2 separate regions of the Homo sapiens genome follow, and region 1 is linked to region 2. Evidence: promoter capture Hi-C in human tissues and cell types (Jung and others, 2019). All regions are on one chromosome and are shown on one strand. Each heading gives the region's core, a stretch centred on a gene start or on the middle of the fragment in contact. The rest is flanking DNA. Distances are from core to core; before and after follow the strand shown.

What was found. Contacts are between HindIII fragments. The study calls those that stand out against the background at their distance.
Region 1: a fragment that was not itself captured here is called in contact with the fragment with the promoter of RGS9 in region 2 in 3 of the 25 tissues and cell types used here (adrenal gland, hippocampus and liver).

What each region holds. Positions count from the first base shown.
Region 1 is chr17:64,988,800-64,992,970 of GRCh38, forward strand. No RefSeq gene overlaps it. Among named protein-coding and RNA genes, the nearest start is that of GNA13, 66 kb to the right of the region's middle. The HindIII fragment of the contact is 5,935 bases long and covers 1-4,171 here.
Region 2 is chr17:65,133,920-65,138,683 of GRCh38, forward strand. RGS9 (regulator of G protein signaling 9) reads left to right here and starts at 3,451. Exons shown (of 19, transcript NM_003835.4): 1 at 3,451-3,678. The coding sequence starts at 3,622. RefSeq lists a silencer at 3,141-3,640. The HindIII fragment of the contact is 16,688 bases long and covers 1-4,764 here.

The DNA of each region.
Region 1 (4,171 bases), core at 1,563-4,062, 150 kb before region 2:
TGAGGGATTGAGGCTGTCCCGGGTAGGGGCTCCGTAAGGGGGAAGCCAACCTACTTTGCAGTGTTCCTGAGGCTCAGGCCCGTGTGCCACAGTGAGAGGGCGCGAACTCCACGGTCCGTGGACTTGGGTTCAGCTGAGGCACCACCAGCTCCTGGGTGGCACTCGGCCAAGGCACTTTACCTCCCTGGGACTCAGTGTGTTTATCCAGGGGTATGAACAATAAGAACCTCTGGCCCACAGGCTTAATGAGAGAATTAAATAAGACATGGGAACAGCTCCTTTCAACTAACTGTTTATTACCAGAAGGTGCCCAATAACCAGGCATGGCAAAAGCCCAAAGGCAAAAACACAAAGCCCTGACATTTAACAGGTTCTTTTTTTGCTAAGAAACCAGCGCTGGAGACAAGTACTTGTGATATATCCTCGTGGCTGGACTTGTTGGTCACAAGTTCTAATTATGGAAATGCCCTCTGACAAAAGAGCCTGTTGATGTGAGTCACTATGGGTGGTTTAACTCTCTAGGCCTGGGCTGCTCCTAAGAATCATTTGCAGATACATCTATCTACCTAGCTATTTTTTTTTTTTTGAGACAGGGTCTCACTCTGTCACCCACTCTTCACTCTGTGAAGTGCAGTGGCACAATCAGGGCTCACTTTATCCTTGACCTCCTGGGCTCAAGCATTCTTTCCACCTCAGCCCTCTGAGCAGCTAAGACTATAGGTGTGTGCCACCATGCCGAGCTAATTTTTTTATTCTTGTTTTGAATTGTAGTATAGATGTCTCACTATATTATCCAGGCTGGCCTTGAATTCCTGAGCTCAAGCAGTCCTCCCACCTCGGCCTCCCAAAGTGCTGGGATTACAGGCATGAGCCACCGCACCCGGCCCATAAGATACATATGTTTTTTTTAAAATAATGCAGTGAGTTGTTTTGTTTTGGTTTTTGTGTTTTTTTAGAGACAAGGTGACATTCTGTTGCCCAGGCTGTGCTCTCACAGCTCACTGCCGCCTTGACCTCCTGGGTTCAGGCAATCCTTTCACCCCAGCCTCCACGTAGCTGGGACTACAGGCATATGCCACCACACCCTGGTTAATCTTAATTTTTTTTTTTAGAGATGGAGTCTTGCTATGTTGCCCAGTCTGGTCTTGAGTTCCTGGACTCCAGTGATCCACCCCCCTCAGCCTCCCAAAGTGCACCACCATGCCCAGTTAATTTTGTATTTTTAGTAGAGACAGGGTTTTTCCATGTGGTCAGGCTGGTCTCAAACTCCTGACCTCAGGTGATCTGCCTACCTTGGCCTCCCAAAGTGCTGGGATTACAAGTGTGAGCCACTGAGCCTGGTCGCTACTTGTTCTTATTGTGCATTTATATCCTGAAGAAATGGAATCTGCCATTTGCTGTAGCAGCGATCCAGAAAAACAAAGTGTAGTTGTTGGAATAAAACACAACTAACTGACATTGAGTGTCACCTGGGGGTGACCCAGCACAGCAAGAATGGATCAGCTTAAGCAGGTGTGGTGGCATGCACCTGTGGTCCCAGCTACTTAGGAGGCTGAAGTGGGAGGATCACCTGGCCCAGGAGAACGAGGCTGCGGTAAGCCAAGATCATGCCACTGCACTCCAGCCTGGGCAACAGAGCAAGATCCTGTCTCAAAAAAAAAAAAAAAGAATCAAAGAATGGATCAGCCTCATATCATCCAAGCTCATAGAGACAATGATGTAGAAAAACCCCAATGGCTTTGTATTGAATCGTCACCTTCAGAGGGCTGGGGACATAGGTTCATAGATAGTACCTTCACTCCCGGGAGGCACGGGAAGACAATTCCTTTTTGGTTTTTTTTTGAGACAGAGTTTCACTCTTGCCACCCAGGCTGGAGTGCAGTGGTGCAGTCTCAGCTCACTGCAACCTCTGCCTCCTGGGTTCAAGTGCTTCTCCTGCCTTAGCCTCCCAAGTAGCTAGCATTATAAGTGCCCATCACCACACCCAGTTAATTTCTGTATTTTTAGTAGAGACGGGGTTTCTCCATGTTGGCCAGGGTGGTCTCGAACTCCTGACCTCAGGTGATCCACCCACGTTGGCCTCCCGAAGTGCTGGGATTACAGGCATGAGCCACCACGCCCGGCCGGGAAGCCAATTTATAACAAGCTTTCTTGGTAAACATGGGTAATTAGTTGATGACCCTAATGGTCCCTACCCCTCAAAGTTTGGTGCATCCTCTTTCTCTCTCCCAGCCGTGTGAGGACACAACATGAAGTTGGTCATCTCAGGACCAGGAAGAGAGCCCTCCCCAGAACCCAACTATACTTGCACTTGACTTTGGACTTCCTAGCCTCTGCTGTGAGTGATGAATGCTTGTTGTGTAATCCACCCAGCCTATGATACTCTGTGGTAGCAGCCCAAGCTGACTAAGACACTTGGCAAGTGCATCTCCACAATAAGATCCAAGCCATCTCAGCCTGGAAGTTGATGCTTCCAGATGGCATTCAGGAGAATGACCAAAGTTTGTCTCTCTTTTTTTTGAGACAGAGTCTTGCTCTGGCTGGAGTGCAATGGTGCGATCTCAGCTCACTGCAACCTCCGCTCCCTGGGTTCAATAAATTTCTTGTGCCTCAGCCTCCCGAGTAGCTGGGATTACAGGCATGTGCCACCACACCCAGCTAATTTTTGTGTTTTTAGTAGAGATGGGGTTTCTCCATGTTGGCCAGGCTGGTCTCAAACTCCTGGCTTCAAGCGATCCACCCACCTCAGCCTCCCAAAGTGCTGGGATTATAGGCATGAACCACCACACCGAGCCCAAAGTTTTTCTCTTTGACCCTTCATTTTGTATTGTTGATCAATCTCCTCACCTTTTTTTTTTTTTTTGAGATAGGGTCTTGCTCTGTCACCCAGGCTCAAGTGCAGTGGCATGATCACAGCTTATTGTAGCCTCAAAGTCCCAAACTCAAGCAATCCTCCTGCTTTAGCCTCCTGAGTAGCTGGGACTACAGACGTAGGCCACCACACCCAGATAATTTTTATTTTTTTGTAGAGATGGGGTCTCATTATGTTGCCCAGGCTGCTCTCATACTCCTGGGCTCAAGTGATCCTCCAACCTTGGCCTCTCAAAGCACTGGGATTATAGGCGTGAGACATCACGCCCGGCCCTAACCCCCTTTCTGATTGACATGTTCTTAAGGTACCTTACAAGAGGTTAGAAGTGTTTTTATAAATATACCTTTTTTTTTTTTTTTTTTACAAACTTCAGTTGTAACCAAATCTTGCTAAAGAACTCATTCTGATCTCTTAAGGTAACTTTACATTTCTTTACATTAGAACTTTATATTTCTTCTAATCCATATGCATTGGTTTTACAGTTTTACCGTTTTGTAATTGCCAAAACAATACAGGATTCTCAGTCACATCGGAATTTCAGATGAACAATGAGTAATTTTTTAGTATAAGCATGTCCCATAAATTTCATGGGATATATTTACATTAAAAGTGATTGGTTGTTCATTTGAAATTCTAGTTAACTAAGCACCCTGTATTTTTATTTGTAAAACCTGGCCACCCACTCTCCAAGGGAAATACTAGTTCCCTATTTCCAAATTGGTGGAGGTGGTGGTGACCTCATGATTGCTCATATAACCTATCCACAGTTTCAAGAAGGAAAGAAAGGTAATTCTGTATGCCAAAAAGACACAAACCACACAAATAGCAAATATGTCCCCATGCAAGGCACAGTGCTGGATGACTCATGGAGAGTGATGTCTGGTCAAACACAAGCCCTCGGGCACGATGGCTCATGCCTGTTATCCCAGCACTTTGGGAGGCTGAGGCAGGTGGATCACGTGAGCCCAGGAATTTGAGACCAACCTGGACAACATGGGAGAAACCCCTCTCTACTAAAAAAAATACAAGAAAACTAGCCAAGCATAGTGGCACATTCCTCAGGGCGGGAGGCTGAGGTGGGAGGATCACTTGAGCCCAGGAGCCAGGAGATCCAGGCTGCAGTGAGCCATGGTCACACCACTGCACTCCAGCCTGGACGACAAAGTGAGACCCAGTCTCAAAAAAAAATTAAAATTAAAAAATAATAAAACAAAAATGTAAAAAAAATACATATATATGTTGCTCTACAGATTAGATGCATTCAGAGAAATTTACCTGAAAATCAATTTCTGAAAAGTA
Region 2 (4,764 bases), core at 2,201-4,700:
AAGACTCCTCTTCCAGGAAGCCTTCCTGATCTTCTCTTCCATTCAGGATGGGTGAGGTGCCTTTCCACAAAATCCTGTATTGCATTGACTACATCTTCATCACACATAGATTTTATTTTATAACATTTTTGTCTAAATATTCTTTTTCCACTTTAAACTCTGAGCTCTTTGAGACAGGAACTGGGTCATATTCTTTTTTTCTTTTTTATATTTGTATTTTTCTGGTCTTATTCTCATAGAAAGGACTGAGTCATATTCTGCTTTGAATTCCAGACTCTAGCAAAATGGCTGGCAAACAATATGTTTGTTGATTAAATAAATCGATGAATTAAATCAATTTTTTCCCCTAGGACACTGGCATGAAACTTTGAATACCATATTATATGACAGGCTCTTTCAGTTGCAAGAAACAAAGACTCAGATATGTGGGAGGATTCCAGAAGATACCCTTGCCCTTGGTAAGGCACTGACCCAACTTAGTCCGAGGGGCTTGTCTGTGTCATGGCCCCTCTGCTGCTCTCTGTTCAGCTTGTTGCTTCCCTTTTTTTCTTTTCTTTTATATGTATATTTTTTGAGACAGAGTCTCGCTCTATTGCCCAGGCTGGAGTGCAAATCTCAGCTCAATGCAACCTCTGCCTCCCAGGTTCAAGCGATTCTCCTGCCTCAGCTTCTCGAGTAGCTGGGATTACAGGCATGCGCCAGCATGCCCGGCTAATTTTTTTGTATTTTTAGTAGAGATGGGGTTTCGCCATGTTGACCATGCTGGTCTCGAACTCCTGACCTCAGGTGATCCGCCCGCTTCGGCCCCCCAAAGTGCTGGGATTACAGGCGTGAGCCTCCGCGCCCAGCCTGTTTGCCTCCCTTTTCTGATCAGCTTCCTCTGCTCACCTTTCATTTCTCCTTCCTCATAACTTCAGCTTGCATTTGGTCTCAGCTTCCTGTGGCCCTGACTTTATCTGACTCAAGTTGGCATTTGTGAAGGTAATAATCTAACAAGCTCCTCTCCGTTTTTCAGATCCACATCATGGTCCTATCATGTGGGGAACTGGCCTCTGGTCCAATGAGCAAAGATGGGTCCCACAAAATGTAGTTGCTTGGAGAGCAGGGCCTGACAGAAGGGGTGGGGAGGAGAGTGGCAGGCACTGAGGCCTCTCCTATTCTATTAATGAGCAAAGTGCCTTTTATTTTTGCCTCTCTTTGCTCCTGAATAATTTTTCTCATCCTTCATTTTAGGAAAGCCACTTATCTTCTTGATGCTTAGGGTTTCTAGAGACAAGGGATGTTGAAGCTGGAAGGAACTTCATAGCTCATCTTGGTCAGATCCCAGCATGTGCTCTGTATAACACTAGGCTCAAAAGATGCTTCATGAGAAAAAAAATCAAGATATTCCAGCATTTTCTTTGGATTTAAACTCACACCAGGCTCAAAAGATGCTTCATGAGAAAAAAAATCAAGATATTCCAGCATTTTCTTTGGATCTCAGCTCACACCAGGAGCATACTTCTCAGTGGTTCAATTTGCTTGGCAGGATCTCTGGTCTTCTGCTTGGATGGATCTCTGCAGGGTCCAGCGTCCTCTAAATTGGAGGCTCTGAATCAGGGATTCCTGAAAAGGCACAAGAGAGGCCCAAGCATGAACCTCTTGAAATTGTTTGCAAACTTCAGTCAGTGTTGTGTACATGTGCATGTGTGTGTGTTCCTGAGTGTCCATAGCTTTCATCAGATTCTTACAGGTAAATATCACCCGAGAGAATGGATAAGAACCACTGCTTTTTTTTTTTTTTGAGACAGAGTCTCACTCTGTCACCCAGGCTGGAATGCAGTGGCTCAGTCTTGGCTCACTGCAGCCTCTGGGTTCAAGTGATTCTTGTGCCTCAGCCTCCTGAGTAGCTGGGATTACAGGTTGCTCCACCATGCTGATTGATTTCTGTATTTTTAATAGAGATAGGGTTTTGCCATGTTGGCCAGGCTGGTCTTGAACTCCTGACTTCAAGTGATTCACCCGCTTGGGCCTCCCAAAGTGCTGGAATTATAGGCGTGAGCCATCACACCCAGCCAAGAACCACTGCTTTAAAGGGACATTGGTTGACTGTGCCTTCCTAAGGTAAAGGCCTTCTTGTTTTCTTCCAACTTAAACATTTTATCTGCTACACTCAATAACCATCGAGTATGTTTAAGAGAAAGTGCTTTATATAACAAAGCAGAAAGGCTCTTGATAATAACTTAGAGGCTTCATCCTTGCATTTTTCTCAAGATGAAAACGCTAACATAATGAGCTGTCAAGGTAGGTTCATCAATTGTAACAAATGGGCCACTCCAGTGGAGGATGTTGATCATGGGGGACGCTGTGCGTGCGTGGGGAGAGGGGATATATGACGTGTCCCTATACCTTCCGCTCAATTGTGCTGTGAACCTAAAACTGCTCTAAGAAATAAAGTCTATTAAAACAAGCAAACCAGCCAGCTGCAGTGGCTCACTCCTGTAATTCCAGCACTTTGGGAGGCCGAGGTGGGTAGATCGATTGAGCCCAGGAGTTTGTGAAACTCCCTCTCCACAAACAATTTTTGTAAAAATTAGCGGGGTGTGGTGGCACGTGCCTGTAGCCCCAGCTACTGGGGAGGCTGAGGTGGGAGGATTGTTTGAGCCTGGGAGGTTGTAGCTGCAATGAGCCATGATTACGCCACTGCACTCCAGCCTGGGTGACAGAGCAAGACCCTGTCTCAAAAAAAAAGTTAAACAACAACAAACCCAACAACCAACTAACCGAAACACTAAGAATCAGAGAAGTAAAATATAATTCGCTTCATCCAGACAGCTAGCCCGGTGAGGACTACAACCTTCCTCTCTTCCTTCTTCACTTCTTTGCTCTCTCTTTTTAAACCCACATCTTAGCAATTCCTCTGCTATTGGGTCATTAAATCGCCACCTCTAATTTTTTTTTCTAAGCATTTATTGAGGGCCAAGCACTGTGTTACACATCTCCTCATTAAAATGGTATAGCAACCTTTTCTGGTCGATATTATGATCCCATTTTTCAATTTTTACTTTTGAGTGAAGGACATTGATTCTTAGAGATTGTAAGGAACTTGCCCAAGGCTGCCGGCTGGTTAGTGGCAGAGCTGGGATGGGAAAGTCCGTATTTTCCACCGCGCTGTATTAGTGAGGGCTCTTTGTGTCACTTCTGTGCATAACTCCGCCCCAAGTTAAAAGGCTCGCTGCTCTCGACAGGTCCTCCTCCTCCTCCCGCTAGGTCCTCCTCCTCCTCCCGCCAGGTCCTCCTCCTCCTTCTCCTCCCGGGGCCCTGCCCTGCGGGTCTCACCTGCTGCTCCGCGGGGTCCCGGCGGGGGCCGGATAGCGCCCCCTGGCGGCAGGTGGGCGCCCGCGCAGCGCATGCTAATGAGCCCGCGGCGCCGCTCGCGGATTGGCTGGCGCGGATTCCAGCTGCTTTCCAAGTCAGCGGCGCCTAGTGAGAGTCAGGGGGGCCCGGCCCGCGCCCTCCCCGCCCAGCCGCCTCCCCGTCGACGCCCAGGGCTGGGGCGAGCCAGGCTGCCTTTCGAACTTGGGGGGCTTCTCCTCTTGTCTCCCACTGGTGCTCTGGCTGTGAATCCATCCAGGGGCCAGGATGACAATCCGACACCAAGGCCAGCAGTACAGGCCGAGGATGGCATTTCTCCAAAAGGTAACCCTGGCCCCTCACCTGGACCCTGGGAGGAGGGCGGGGGACCGCATCTGCGAAGCGTCCGAGGACAAGAGGGGCAGGAGTGGAGAGCACCCCTTTGGGTCGATTTGTGCTGCTCGATTTTATTAAGTGACTTCTTTGCTGTGTGTGTCGATATTGATGGCTATAATAATTAGGTTTTCGTGTGCCCTGCCTGTAGTGGAGAATCTGAAGCCAGCGCTGATGGTCTGCGGGAGGTGAAAACAACCTGTTACTCGGGAGAGGCAGGTTCAGTTCAGGCTGTGGCAGATTTGAGACAGCCTGCTGATATTGTTGTAAGACGACCAGATGTGACATTGCCATTTTTGCCTTTTTTTTCTGATCCCAAACTGCACTATTTTAAAGTGTGTGTGTGTGTACACATAGACCATGAAAACGGGGTGATTTGTAGGATAAAGGGCCACCCCATTTACAATGCCCTGAGAGCCCTCATTTGAGTGTGTCTATCTGTGCATCTCCTGCTGTCTGCGCTGGCGGCAGAAGTCCCAACCTTTTCGCTTCCCTTGCGAATGCTTTCCCAGACAAAGTGACCGGGCACAGGGTGTGCACACAGGATGGACATGTGGGAGGTGGAATGCACCTGTGGGGTGATGTGTTTGGGGACAAAGTGGTTCATTTAGTTCTGAGCTTCTGGTATAATCACTGTCCGATGAGATCTACAGAGGATTAGGTCCCGGGTCACATCTTTGTCCTTCCTCCCACCCGTAGCCACTTTTCACAGCGTAGTGTCCATCTTCTTAGGCTTATCTTGTTGAGTAGAATTAGTTGAATGTTTTGTGACAAGCTGAGCTCTCCCTGAGCCCCTGGAGCTCAGCAAATTTGTATAGTCAGTGACCGCTGTCCTGATTTGCCCAGGACTTTCAATGCTAAAACCTGGACAGTCCTGGGGACCCCGAGACGGTCGCATTTGGTCCACCTGTTTCAAGATGCTCGTGCTCATCTTCCGGGTAGCAGAGGTGTGGGTATCATCTGTAAAGCAGACAGGCTGAATGTTGTCTCACTCAGAAAGAACCCTGAGAGCCTGTATTGCAGATACCAGTTACTAAA